Linked DNA regions of Homo sapiens: regions 1, 2, 3 and 5 are each linked to region 4. The links are contacts of gene promoters, found by promoter capture Hi-C in blood cells and fetal thymus (Javierre and others, 2016). All regions are on one chromosome and are shown on one strand. Each heading gives the region's core, a stretch centred on a gene start or on the middle of the fragment in contact. The rest is flanking DNA. Distances are from core to core; before and after follow the strand shown. Region 1 overlaps ANKRD13A (ankyrin repeat domain 13A). Region 2 overlaps PPP1CC (protein phosphatase 1 catalytic subunit gamma). Region 3 overlaps LOC105369976 (a long non-coding RNA gene). Region 4 holds the start of ANAPC7 (anaphase promoting complex subunit 7). Region 5 has its middle 5.6 kb from the start of IFT81.

Region 1 (2,700 bases), core at 135-2,634, 370 kb before region 4:
AGCATTTCCATATGCCCCCAAATTTCCTTACACTCCTTTGCCATCAATACAATTCATGATTTTAGATGCAATTGTAAATGGACTTATTTTCTTAATTTCATTTCCAGTTACTAGTATATAGAAATATAATTGAGTTTTGTATTTTGACCTTGAATCGTTTTTAAAAATTTTTTATCTTTTTTTTTTCTTACACAATTGCATGGCCAGGATTGACCTTGTTTATCTTGTAACATGGCTGAATTTACTTGTCTTACACTTTTTTGTAGATTTCTTAGAATTTCTTACATATATGGTCATGTTGTCTATTAATAAAGAAAATTTTACTTTTTCCTTTCTAATCTTTAAGCTTTTCATTTCTTTTTCTTGACTTACTGGACTGGCTAGGACATCTAGTACAATGTTGAGTAAGAGTGGTAGGAATGGCTGTCCTTGTCTTGTTCCTGGTTCTAGGGGAGGAAGGATTGTTGTGCCATTAGGTATGATGTTAGCTGTGTAGGTTTTTTATAAATGTCCCTTATTAGTTGGAGGACATTATTCTCTTATATTTCTAGTTTGCTGAGAGTTATTACCATTTTTAAGTATTGATTTTTGTGAGATGTGTTTTCTGCAACTATCATGATGGTCCTATGTTTCTCCCCTGTAGTCTACCAGTAGGAGGAATTAAAAGATAGCATTTTAATGTATATAAATTAAGACTTCAAATAAAAACAATTGAACTCGACAATAATATACACCTTTACATTCCCATGTAGCAACAAAGTTGGGTGAGATGTGTTCATGAGGTTGTGCAGCTAAGGAACACTCGTGCACTCTTGGCTGGAAGAGGAGATTGGTATAGTTCCTTGAATAAAACATTCGGCATTACTGTATAAACTGAAGATGTGGATGACCTAGCAATTCCTAGATGTGTACCCTAAAGAAAGTTATGCACATGAGCATCTGGAGACCCCAGTACTGGGCAGCAGCATCCATTCATAACAGCAGAAACCTGGAAACGACCCAAATGTCCCGAGATGGTAGAATGCGCTATTGTGCTCTATTAATACAACAGAATAACATATAGTATTGAAAATAAAAATTTATAGCTATGTGCGTCAAAACTGTTGAATTTCAAAAGCATAATGTTGAATGAAGAAAATCCAATTTGAAGAATAAATTCCGCATGATTCCATTTATGTCGAGTTCACAAACAGGCTAATACAAACTATTAGGATGATATACATGTGGCAAGCTCCAGAGAAGAGCTAGGCAGTGTAAACAACTATTCTGAATTATGTATTTACCTCTGGAGAGGAAGAAGGGAATATTGTTAACAAGGGATGTGCCCGCAGTATGGTATTGATAGTGTTTTTTTCTTTTTCTTTTTTTTTTTTTTTTTTGAGACAGTCTTACTCTGTCACCCAGGCTGGAGTGCAGTGGTGCGATCTTGGCTCACTGCAAGCTCCGCCTCCCGGGTTCATGCCATTCTCCTGCCTCAGCCTCCCGAGTAGCTGGGACTACAGGTGCCCGCCACCACGCCCGGCTAATTTTTTTTTTTTTTTGTATTTTTAGTAGAGACGGGGTTTCACCATGTTAGCCAAGATGGTCTCGATCTCCTGACCTTGTGATCTGCCTGCCTCAGCCTCCCAAAGTGCTGGGACTACAGGCGTGAGCCACCGCGCCCGGCAGTTATTGATAGTGTTCTGTGTCTTAGGCTAGGTGAAGGGCACACAGGCATTTGTTTAATTATTATCATTTTTAAGTGTTCAGATATTTTATATATACTTTTATATATTTACCATATATCTTCCTGCAAAAGGAAGAAACACATTGGTGTGACTGTGCGTATATGTTTAGGGGGAGAAATCTGCGCTTTTCATTTTATAGTCTTGTGTATTTTTTTATGACTGTGTTCGTTGTTTCCACTAAAATCAAGGAAAAAGAAAAAAGCTGTATTCTGTCACTTTTTTCTGTCATGCTTCCTCAGAATCTCTCATATAATAGTAAGCCTTGATTGTTATAATTTTGAGCCTTTCTTTTTTTTCTAATGTACAACATTTTTGCAAAAAGTTGGAGTGGAAATGTAATGAACTCAGACACTGGACGGTTGCCTTTTGTTTCAGCTTCCCACATCACAAACTTTGAGGTTGATCAATCTGTGTTTGAAATTCCCGAATCTTACTATGTTCAAGACAATGGCAGAAATGTGCATTTGCAAGATGAAGATTACGAGATAATGCAGTTTGCCATCCAGCAAAGTCTGCTGGAGTCCAGCAGGAGCCAGGTGTGTTTATCAGAATACTCTAATGGCAGGGCGTGGGAGGTCTTACCCTCTGGGTTAGCCTCAGTGTTTGGCTAATCTGAAAGATTTATTCTAAATATCAAGTTTGACACATTCATGGTATTTGCATAGGTTATACTTTGTGCATCTGGTCTTCTTACAAAAGCTTGTTATGTAAGAGACCATCTACATAATCCCAGTCAGCACCATTCACAAGATGTCTTCAGGCAGACTTTCCTTTTCCTCATATTCACGCACATAGCTTGTAATTCTGTACTTTTTGAGATGTGCTTCATCATTTTCTAGCACTGAAGCAGTATCATATTTTTCCTGAAGGATTACCTGTGTGTCAGTAGTCTCGGATGAAGGTAGTGAAGTGGATTTGAATCCCACTTCCTCCACAAAGGGTACCATCTCCCTAAACTCTCTCTGGGTCTCTA
Region 2 (2,700 bases), core at 195-2,694, 330 kb after region 4:
CCAGCACTTTGGGAGGGTGAGGCGGGCAGATCATGATGAGGTCAAGAGATCCAGACCATCCTCGCCAACATGGCGTGCACCTGTAATCCCAGCTACTCAGGAGAATCGCCTGCACCCGGGAGGCGGAGGTTGCAGTGAGCCAAGATCGCGCCACTGCACTCCAGCCTGGCAACACAGCGAGACTCCGTCTCAAAAAAAAAAAAGAAAAGGAAAGAAAAGAAAAGAAAAGAAACAGGATTGGAAATACTCAGAACCCTCCCCCATCAGTGTTTTCCAGAGGACCATGGGTATCTCCTCCTGAGGATCTCTGATTTAATTTACCTATGAAAAAATGTTAGTGTTGTTTTCATTTCATTAAGAAAATGTTGGTTCATTGTACTTATTTTGCCATGCATTTTCTGGGCCTGCATTTGTGTTTATGCTCATGTCTATATAGGGCAAAGGATGTCAGTCATGTGCTATACTGTAAGAAAGCACGTTCCCTAATAATTTGAACAGATAAGATAATAATGGGAGAAAGAAATCATTGCACAGCATGGGGCATCCACACCACCAGAGCACTTAGGGTTCTTCTATCAAAGTACAAACTTTGCAACAGAACTCACTTGTCAGCACGTAGGTAGTTGTGGGAAAGAAATTTTGTTTTGGTTCCAGTTGTAACAGACTGGATAGTCATTAGATACAGATAAAGTAGCACGGAACTGCTAAATGTACCTTAATTTTACAGTTATAAAGTTCACTTTTGGACCCCAAAATATGTAACTAAGTCTCGTTCTGATAAAAATATTATACAACAAGAAGCAATAAAAGCATAGTAATAATAGTCTTCGAGGAAAGATATGAAACAGATGCATATTTAATAAAACAGCAACTGAGCAACAAAAATGTTTTTTTCGTAAGTAATTTTTTTTCTCTCTAGACACACATACAGAGTTAGAACTCAGGAAATACTCCCGGTGAAAGATGGGATCCCCACTTCATTGGCCAGAAAATGCCAATCATTAGTGATTTCACCATAAGTTAACCAAAAACTTGGGCAGACTGCCCAGCAGGAAGCTTTATTTTTGGCTAGGAAGGAAATCCTAGAAGCTTCTGGTTTCAACGTGAATTTTTTTCAGCAGAGTCCCACACTTATGAATGAATAGCTGACTCTAAGTCTTCTAGGAGAGTATTTCTGCGATAAATAGCTCATACCATATAATGGCAAGCTTTGTTTTATGAATGCTATTGCAGTTAGTCAATGCCATCAGATGAAATCAATGTTGCTAACAATTTTTTTTTTTGGCTTTGGACGCTCTCCACTGTCACCTTTGAACATAGTTTATATTTGTTTTAACTCCTTTATTCTGTTTCTGTTTGTCCTCTGGGTGGGGACATTCAGAGATCAGTAAAAAGCAAAAGCAATACTAACAACAATTTAAAAATTCTTCTTTTTTGAAGAAGCCTGGTGCCCAGGCTGGAGTGCAGTGGCATGATCATGGCTTACTGCAGCCTCAACCTTCCAGGCTCAAGTGATCCTCTTGCTCTGGCCCCCCAAGTGCCGGGATTACAGGCATGAGCCACTGCACCTGGCCTTAAAAATTACTCTTAATATTAAGATTAGATGCAGCTTTTCCAGAGAAAATAAAGATTTGTATTTAAAGAATGGTGCTTATGAAAAACATCAACAAACATGGTCTGAAAGCTTCTTAAATTCCCTAAAATTAGCAGAAAGAAAAAAGTTATATAAAGATAGAAACTGCCAAAACCATCTTCCATCAGTTATCATACAACTGCTCAGACTTCAGGCCTCTGCTCAGATACCACACTTCACCCTGGAGAAAAGCTTCTCTCATCCATCTCCTCTCCCCTCACAAGCTTGCTGCATGCTTTTTGAAAGGCTCTCTCAACATCAGGTCACTACCCACCACACCCCCTCAACCATGCTTGTATTTGTTTTATACTTGCCAGTTTGCTTCTGCCGGCTCATCTGGACCCACTGGTAGAATGTAAACCCACAGCAGCAGTCCTGCTCTGTAGTGTACACCAGCCATAGCCAGCACACAGCAGGTGCTCAAAATTTGTTGCATGACTGAAATCTGGATAAGTCTTTAAGTAGTGTTGACTGGTGGCATTAGAATTAAACATATATTCCAGACTATATATTTATTTATTTAGAGACGGAGTTTCACTCTTGTTGCCCAGGCTGGAGTGCAATGGCACGATCTCGGCTCACTGCAACCTCCGTCTCCCGGGTTCAAGCAATTATCCTGCCTCAGCCTCCCGAGTACCTGGGATTACAGGCATGCGCCACCACATCCAGCTAATTTTATACTTTTAGTACAGATGGGGTTTCTCCATATTGGTCAGGCTGGTCTCGAACTCCCGACCTCAGGTGATCCACTGCCTCGGCGCCCAAAGTGCCAGGATTACAGGTGTGAGCCACCGTGCCCAGCCCAGACTATATACTTTTGATGAGCAAAAAGCCTGTTTCTGCACTATAAAATTATAAAACAATAGGGCCACTTGCTTACCAGGCTTTACTGGAGTATTTTTCAAAGTATGAAAATCTAGAATTACTCTTAAATTTCACGTTGAATTGTCTAACAGAGATTTCAAATGGGGCTTGGCAGTCCAAGTGAACACTGGAGAGTTCTTAAAAGTTGTCATATCAGGCTGGGCGTGGTGGCTGGTTACTGCGGAGGCTGAGGCAGAAGAATC
Region 3 (2,700 bases), core at 140-2,639, 320 kb before region 4:
CTTCTGCCTCAGCTTCCCAAGTAGCTGGGATTATTGGCATGTGCCAACATATTCAGCTACTTTTGTATTTTTAGTAGAGATGGGGTTTCACCATGTTGGCCAGGCTGGCCTTGAATTCTTGACCTCAAGTGATCCACCCGCCTCGGCCTCCCAAAGTGCTGGGATTACAGGTGTGAGCCATGAGATGGAGTCTTGCTCTGTCGCTCAGTCTGGAGTGCAGTGGCAAGATCTTGGGTCACTGCAACCTCCACCTCCTGGGTTCAAAGGATTCTCCTGCCTCAGCCTCCTTAGTAGCTGGGATTACAGGCGTGCACCACCACCCCCAGCTAATTTTTGTATTTTTTTTAGTAGAGACAGGGTTTCACCATGTTGGCCAGGCTGGTCTCAAACTCCTGAGTTCAACACAAATATTGAAATAGGAGGCAGGGTAGTCCCAGCCACTTGGGAGGCTGAGGTAGGAGGATCACCTTGAACTCAGGAGGTCAAGACTGCAGTAAGCCATGATTGTACCACTTCACCCCAGTCTGGGCAACAGAGTAAGACCCTGTCTCAAAAAAAAAAAAAGAAAAAGAAAGAGAGAAAGAAAGAAAAAGAAGGAAGGAAGGAAAGGAAGGAAGGAAGGATGGAAGGAAGGAGGGAAAGAATAGAAAAAGAAATAGGAGGCAGAGTTGTCTGATGAGAATGAGAGGAAAGGCAAGAGGGTGGGAAGTGGGATGAGTGTCAAGAAGATTCAAAATAGTTGCTATGGTGAACGGGAGGAGAGCGCCAACAGGGAAAACAGGAATTCCCGGGTGGTGGTAAGAATTAGAGACCATGAATTTGTTATTGCCAGCAGTCTAAGTGACAGATTATGGGAGCAACCTGGGGCCTTCCCACCAACAGGAACGGCCTTCCACCTCCACACCCAGCAACCCACCAGGACTTGCCAAGTGGTTCACATAATTTTAAGGTATGTCATCATTGGTGTCTACTGTTTGTTATGGTGTCAACATGTGTTACTGGGACTGTAACTAGCCAGGCCCAAGATACAGCAGCAAAAGGCTGATTCTGTTGCTCTGCCCATAGATCACCCTTTCCTGGGACTTGCATCCCCTGTCAGGCCACAACATAGAGCAGAAAGCTTTTCTTTGTCCCCTGACTCAACTCAGCCACTGGGAATGACTTGGTTCACTCAGCTTAATCTGGATATACCTACCCTACCTTCTTATAAATGCTGGGTTTATTTAAACCTCAAGATCTCCCCTCTATTCCTCTCTACCCAAGCTGAATACCCATGCTATCCTTGGGAAATTCAAAAAATACCTGTTTCCTAGTCAAGATAGCTGGCCATTTTACATAACAACCCAGGTCTTCTGCAACCCTAAACAAAGGCTGGAGATAGATGAGGAAAACTAAGGCTCTCCTAATGGTGGAGGGTAGAGAGACGTCTGAGGTTTCTGGAGGACTGAGGACCTGTTGTCTTCTCCACCAGTCTAACCAGAACAGGTATAAACATCATGGAAGGAAATTTACATTGATCCAGGACTGGGCTTTTGCCACAAGTTGCAAATTATGTTATTTAGGGTGCTTTTGTGTGAAAGTAGCAGAATGCCTGACTCAAGCTGGCTTAAATATGAAATAAATGGTTATTTCATGTACTAGGATATCCTGGGGCAAGATAAGCTTCAGAGTGTGTTGATTTAGTGGCTTGACAACATAGTCAAGGATCTGGGTTCTTTCTTTCTCTCTGTACTGCCACCCTTGTTGTTGGGTTCGTCCTCAGAAAGAAAGATAATCAATTCTTTTGTCTCTTTCATGGGAAAATCTTTCCCAGAGTCCCTTTCGTCCCACCTCACTCTACCCTCTAGTGCTAGAAGTGAGTCACACGCCTGTTCCTCTCCTGACAAAAGACAGGGAATGACCATGACCTGCTTGGACCAACCATCTGGGTTGGAATGGATGTCGGGGAGTCGTTCACAACATCCATGCCTGGATATAGCAAAGATCATGGAATCTAGGCTGGATGGGAAAGGAATTGGAGGAAGGAGGGTCCTGAGAGGGAGAAAGTGGAAGGGCCAAGGGATTCTGTAGTTCAAAGAACTGCTAAGCTGGAATGACCAAAAGAACAGAAGGTGCAAGCCTGTGATCAGAGAAATGTGAGACTTTAGAGGAAGATTTTTTCCAGGAGAAACCAAGGTCCAGGACATGGTCCAGGGAAATGGTGGCTAAAGCAGAGTGGAGGTGAAGGTCATTGGAATAAGAAGGGACAGGAGCTGAGGGGCCAGGAGTTCGGCCAGGTCCTAGGTCATTAAAGTCACCAGTATGGCAGTAGGAACTGGGGTGAGAAGGATAAGCCAGTTGCCAAAGCCCTTTGAGAATAAGGGTTGATAGGTTGGTTGACTGATTGATGAGTAGGCATCATCAATGAGAGGGCACAGAAGGTGGTACAGCCAGATGCCAGGAGCCTCAGCACTTACTCAAGATGGAGGACTATGGATCTAGTAATAGAGGTGTGGAGGACAGAGGACACCATGGGGTTGGGAGAAGGACCACCATTCCCTGGTAAGGGCTTCAAGGACTATCAGGGAAGAGCCAGGGCTTACTTAGGGCAGGAAGTAGAGGGAACTGTTTGTGCAGAGGTCATGACCTTAAAAATAAAGAGCACGCCCCACTCTTCCTTTACTCCATCTCACAGGCTGGAATGAGAATCTGTAAGTGAGC
Region 4 (2,700 bases), core at 163-2,662:
GGCCATGGGAAAGAATTTTCATAAGTGCAATAAAGGATTTTTTTTTTTTTTTGAGACGGAGTCTCGCTCTGTCGTCCAGGCTGGAGTGCAGTGGTGCTACTTCGGCTCACTGCAAGCTCCGCCTCCCGGGTTCACGTTATTCTTCTGCCTCAGCCTCCCGAGTAGCTGGGACTACAGGCGCCCGCCACCACGCCTGGCTAAATTTTTTTGGTATTTTTTAAGCAGAGACGGGGTTACACTGTGTTAGCCAGGATGATCTCGATCTCCTGACCTCGTGATCCGCCCGCCTCGGCCTCCCAAAGTGCTGGGATTACAGGCATGAGCCACTACGCCCGGCCAATAAAGGATATTAAGCAGGAGAGGGACATGCACTCAAGGATGGAATCAGCTCAGTGCTTCAAGGAAACATGAAAGGCGCCACGCCCACCCATTAATGGAGTCTCCCGTTTCCTTTTTTTGAGACAGGCAGTCGTTCTGTCGCCCACGGTAAAGGACAATGATGCGATCACGGCTCACTGCAGCCTCGACCTCCTGGGTTCAAGCGATCCTCCTGCCTCAGCCTCCCGAGTAGCTGGGACCGCAGGCACGCACCATCACGCCCGGCTAATTGTTTAATTTTTACTTTTCGTAGAGGCAGGGTCTCCCTATGTTGCCCAGGTTGGTCTTGAACTCCTGGGCTCAAGCGATCCTCCCGCCTCGGCCTCCCAAAGGGCTCGTATTAGAGGCGTGAGCCACCGCGCCCGGCCCCGTTTTCAGGGGTTTCCCAAGGCCAGAAAGTGGACCCTCCTGATACACTTAACGGGGGGACCAATCTCAGATGCGGGGGCTAGCGCATAAAAACCAGGAGGCTGGGTCCCTGAGCTGCAGCGAGAGAAAAAAACGTTCTTCTGGAAGGAGCCGAGAGGGAAGGATTCAGCCTAGCGATGTGACAGTCGCGCTGCCCCGCGACAGGTGCCTCAGGAAACCCTCGCCTGGGTCGTCCTCAGAGCCTCTGCCTTCTATGTCTCCAAGCCGCCGCTCGCCACATCCCCGCGGGACTTGACGCCGGCACCCAGTGAACCCAACTTGCGCTCCGAAGTCTGCTCCGCTCCAGGACGCCCTCGCAGACCCCGGAGCCTCCGCTGGCGCCGGCGGCCGCTCCTTCCCGCCTGTTCCCACGTGCCCTGAGCCCCCGCTCCCAGACCGCCGCCGCTTTCTCCTCAGCCCCAGGCAGCTACCCGCCTCAACTCACGGGTTGTTATTACTCATTGTAAGTAACAAGCTGCTGAGGAGCCGCACGTTGGAGTGCAGCCCCGCGGCCGCCATGTCCCGCACGTGGTCTATCACATTCATCCTGCTCTGCAAAGCCGCGGGCAGCGGCGGCAGCACTGACTCGAAAAGCCGGTAGAGGATCCTTAGGGAAGACTCCAAAATGGCGGCGTCGCCGGGGTCCATCGGGTCCACACGCGGCACCACCCCCAAGCAAGAGGTAACTACTGAAGTGCCCGAATAAAAAGAAACTCGAGTCCCTGCTCCTGTCGTGGTCCTTTTCAGGTGAAATGAGTTGTTATTTTTACGCAAAAATCACGTTATCATCCTAAACTGCAAACTTTACTGAGGATTTACAATGAGACAAAAGGCACCTTATAAGACTACTCGGTCAATTTGAATGAGTCTGAGAGGAATTTGTGCCTCTCAGAAATTAAAATGTGTGGGTATTTACCGAAATAAAATACAGTAAGGTGAGGAAAAACGCTCCAACTGGAATTAAATATTCTAATCGGGCGCCAGGGACAGACCTAACGGCCTTTACAGTGGCGCATGCGCACCAGGCTAGGGCCGCCGCGCCCCTCCTCAGGTGTTTTGTGTTCCTGCCAAGTCAGGCTTCGGCCCTGGGGGAACTCCTTGGTTCGAGGGGTATATTTCCCCATGTAAAATTATTCCCTAGATCCGTGGAAATAAAGGCTGGATCCAGGAATTAGCTGATACCCATATAAACCAGTATGTGTCTGGCACACTTAACGTTTTAGGAAAGTTTTACACAAGTTATTGGGACGCTCACAACAATCCATAAAGTTGAAGTTGTCATTCCCTTCCCACAAGGGAAGAAACTGCCTGCTTAAATTTTGTGCTCAGGTTGTTAAATGGTTGACTTGGAATCAGATCGACTGGTTAATTATGTTGGATCGCAAACTCAAATGTATACAGGGACCAGGGAGGTAACTGAGCCAATGAGGCAGTTTAGGTCGTTGAGTCAGAGTCCGAATATTCTCCACAGTCATCCTCTCAGATCTAGCCTATCGCTCCTTTCTTAAAGGAGACAGTCGTTTTGGTCTAGATTTTGTTTTCATTTGATTTTTACAGTAGTAGATGCAAAAAAAATGCTCTGAAAAAATCACAGTGTATCTTCATCAGCAACTTTTTCAGCTCTTAACATTTTGTCACAGTTGAAGCTCCTGTAGATCCTTTTCCCATCTCATCCCCTACTCTAGTTTCCTGGATGTGTGAGACCTTCTATTTGATTTTGGTGGGCATCATCACTGTGAACTTTTCTTTTTTCTTTTTTTCGAGACGGAGTTTTGCTCTTGTCGCCCAGGCTGGAGTGCAAAATCTCAGCTCACTGCAACCTCTGTCACCCGGGTTCAAGGAATTCTCCCTGCCTCAGCTTCCCGAGTAGCTGGGATTACAGGCGCCTGCCACCACTGTCATGTGCGTCCGTGT
Region 5 (2,801 bases), core at 36-2,535, 290 kb before region 4:
TCATCTCTAAAAAAAAAAAAAAAAAAAAAAAAAAAAAATTAGCTGGATATGGTGGCGCCACCTGTAGTCCCAACTTTTCGGGAGGCTGAGGCCGGGAGGTACAGGCTGCAGTGAGTTATGATCACGCCACTGCATTCCAGCGTGGGTGACAGAGTGACATCGTGTCACTGAAAAAAAAAAGTTAGATGCATCCTATATTTCAATCCATACTGATGACTAAGGAGTTAATATGAATTGCGTATTATTTTGGCTATTCTACATTGCCCATTAATCTCATCAGCAATTTCCAGCCTTTGTGAACCATAGCACATTTATAAATACAAAACCCATTTTATAAAAGCCATCTGAGAAAAATATAGTACCAGGCACACATTTAAGAAGACCTCTGGAATCTCATCCATTTAAGTTGAGTATTTCACATATTATTTATCTTTTTACCTTTTAAGAAAGCACATTCTGCTACTAAACATACCCACAAGATTAAATTGTCAGAACAGAGACAATTTAGGATATCTGCAAAATGCAATTCAGGTTTCCGTTCAAATTTAATTTCTTTCCTCTCCAAGTAACCTGGATGGCAAAGGCATTAAATGACAATTAATGGATAACAGAATAACCCTCTTCTGAATTTGTTTCTGCGTCTGGGTCATTTTTCCCAGTTTTAAAAGAATGAGATAAAGTGGGCAGCCTGCAGAATAGCCCCAGATGGGATAGCATCTTGAATCCTGGCACTCGCTGAATACTCGTGCAGAATCCAGAAATATCTCATGGTCAGGATGAAAGGTCTAAATTTAATACCAAAAACAGAAAATTGGCTTGGCTTCCCTGTACTCTGCACAGGAAAGTTCTTGTTTGGAAGTTCTGAAATGAGAAGGGATTGGAGACATTATATTCATGGCCATCCTCAGATGTTTGTGGGGGATCCGGAGAGGTCTGCTGGGTTATCCCAAGACCTTGTTTGGCCCACAGTGGAAGACCACATTGAAGAAAGATAATTCGTGGAAGGAAATCAGGGAGAAGGTTCTCATTGATACAGATGCTCTCTGCCACGAGTGCAGGCTCATTCCTTCCTCTTCCGGTTTTTCTTATGCAGCTTTCCAGATTTACCAGCCTTCCCTGACCACCTGGTCTTCCCTGATCTACTGGTCTTGTTTGCATAGCATCTCTATCTCTGATAAGAGGATCCAGCACTTCCTTTGGGTCTGACACACTTCAGACCAATGAGAGTGAGCCCTGGAAATTTGCTGAAACTATTGGATTAAAAGTTCTACTTTTTTTCTTTTTCTTTTCTTTTTCTTTTTTTTTTTTTTTTATTTGAGACAGGATCTCACTCTCTCACCCAGGCTGGAATGCAGCAGTAAGATCTCAGCTCACTGCAACCTCCGCCTCCTGGGTTCAGGCGATTCTCCTGCCTCAGCCTCCCAAGTAGCTGGGATTACAGGCACCTGCCACCACGCCCAGCTAATTTTTGTATTTTTTTTGTAGAGACAGGGTTTTACCATGTTGGCCAGGGTGGTCTCGAACCGCTGACCTCAAGTGATCCTCCTGCCTTGGCCTCTTAAAGTGCTGGGATTACAGGCATGAGCCATTGTGCCCAGCCTAAATGTCTCTTTCTAAGAAGCTGGAATTGTCAGCCTCTTTTTTTCACTTCTCAGCTTCCTCAGACCTTGGGGGTAGGTTTGCATAGGCCTGCTCACCTCAGAACAACTTCACAATTACATGAGATAAAACCTCTTCTCTTTATTTTTTATCTTATAACTAAACTGAGGCTTGAAAAATACACTTTACCAGGAGTAATTTTCCCCCTCTGAATAATCGGACCAAAGGTTCAAAACTGTGGATACCCCTTATTATCTACGCAGTTAAATAAGGAGATAAGAAGGGGCAGCTTCAAGTCTTTCTCACCTCCTCCTCACCTTGCCTCACCCTCTCCTCCAGTGGAAGATGGTGAACATTTGAAGCCCATCCATGTAAGCAGCATCTTCTTATCAGATGGCTTCTGGTGAGAAACAGATTGGGAATTCTAGTGCTTTGGTAGCAAGGGATGAGTAGGTTTCAGTAACAGGTCCGTTATAACCAAAAACTACTAAAGGCTCCACATCTTGGGTCCTGTAATCTACAACCATGGGTACCCAACAGGCCAAAAATTAACAAAAGTTGAAAGGAAGAGACACTGTAAGAATGAATCCTCTCTCCCGTCCTGCTGATGTATATACCCTGTCACCTGACCTAGGCAATGGAATCCTTATTCATAAGGGGGCGAAAGTGTGTATACAAATGTTCATAGCAGATTATTCATAGTAGCAAAAAAGTGGAACCAACTCAAATGTTCAGGAATAGAAAATGCGTAAAGAAAATGTGGTCTATCCATAGAATGGAATTATTTGGCAATAAAAGGGAATGACGGGCTGGGCATGGTGGCTCACACCTGTAATCCCAGCACTTCGGGAGGCTGAGGTGGGTGGATCACTTGAAGCTAGGAGTTCAAGACCAGCCTGGTCAACATGGCAAAACCCCGTATCAACTAAAAATACAAAAAATTAGCCAGGCGTGGTGGCGCACACCTGTAGTCCCAGCTACTCAGGAGGCTGAGGCAGGAGAATCGCTTGAACTCGGGAGGTTTGAACCCAGGAGGCAGTGGTTGCAGTGAGCCAAGATCATGCCACCGCACTCCAGCCTGGGAGACAGAGGGAGACTCCACCTTAAAAAACAACAACAACAACAACAACAAACAAAAAAACAAAAACGGGAACGGGAATGATGTATTGATCCATGTTACTACATGGATGAATCTTAAAAAC

The links. The method cuts DNA at HindIII sites, captures the fragments that hold promoters and counts their contacts. A CHiCAGO score of 5 or more calls a contact.
Region 1: a contact is called between a fragment that was not itself captured here and the fragment with the promoter of ANAPC7 in region 4, in 2 of 17 cell types (M0 macrophages and monocytes). The highest score is 7.0, in M0 macrophages.
Region 2: a contact is called between a fragment that was not itself captured here and the fragment with the promoter of ANAPC7 in region 4, in 1 of 17 cell types (total B cells). The highest score is 5.5, in total B cells.
Region 3: a fragment that was not itself captured here is called in contact with the fragment with the promoter of ANAPC7 in region 4 in 2 of 17 cell types (activated CD4 T cells and naive CD8 T cells); the score reaches 6.1 in activated CD4 T cells.
Region 5: a contact is called between a fragment that was not itself captured here and the fragment with the promoter of ANAPC7 in region 4, in 1 of 17 cell types (M0 macrophages). The highest score is 6.0, in M0 macrophages.

What each region holds. Positions count from the first base shown.
Region 1 is chr12:110,031,695-110,034,394 of GRCh38, forward strand. It overlaps ANKRD13A (ankyrin repeat domain 13A), which reads left to right. Exons shown (of 15, transcript NM_033121.2): 13 at 2,103-2,263. Among named protein-coding and RNA genes, the nearest start is that of C12orf76, 15 kb to the right of the region's middle. The HindIII fragment of the contact is 2,080 bases long and covers 345-2,424 here.
Region 2 is chr12:110,732,205-110,734,904 of GRCh38, forward strand. The region is part of intron 1 of PPP1CC (protein phosphatase 1 catalytic subunit gamma); the gene reads right to left. Among named protein-coding and RNA genes, the nearest start is that of PPP1CC, 9.3 kb to the right of the region's middle. The HindIII fragment of the contact is 476 bases long and covers 1,207-1,682 here.
Region 3 is chr12:110,083,872-110,086,571 of GRCh38, forward strand. All of the region lies in intron 2 of LOC105369976 (a long non-coding RNA gene), which reads right to left. Among named protein-coding and RNA genes, the nearest start is that of C12orf76, 37 kb to the left of the region's middle. The HindIII fragment of the contact is 542 bases long and covers 1,119-1,660 here.
Region 4 is chr12:110,402,296-110,404,995 of GRCh38, forward strand. It overlaps ANAPC7 (anaphase promoting complex subunit 7), which reads right to left and starts at 1,413. Exons shown (of 11, transcript NM_016238.3): 1 at 1,232-1,413. The coding sequence starts at 1,332. The HindIII fragment of the contact is 41,113 bases long and covers 1-2,700 here.
Region 5 is chr12:110,117,383-110,120,183 of GRCh38, forward strand. No RefSeq gene overlaps it. Among named protein-coding and RNA genes, the nearest start is that of IFT81, 5.6 kb to the right of the region's middle. RefSeq lists a cis regulatory region at 1,002-1,273. The HindIII fragment of the contact is 4,390 bases long and covers 1-2,801 here.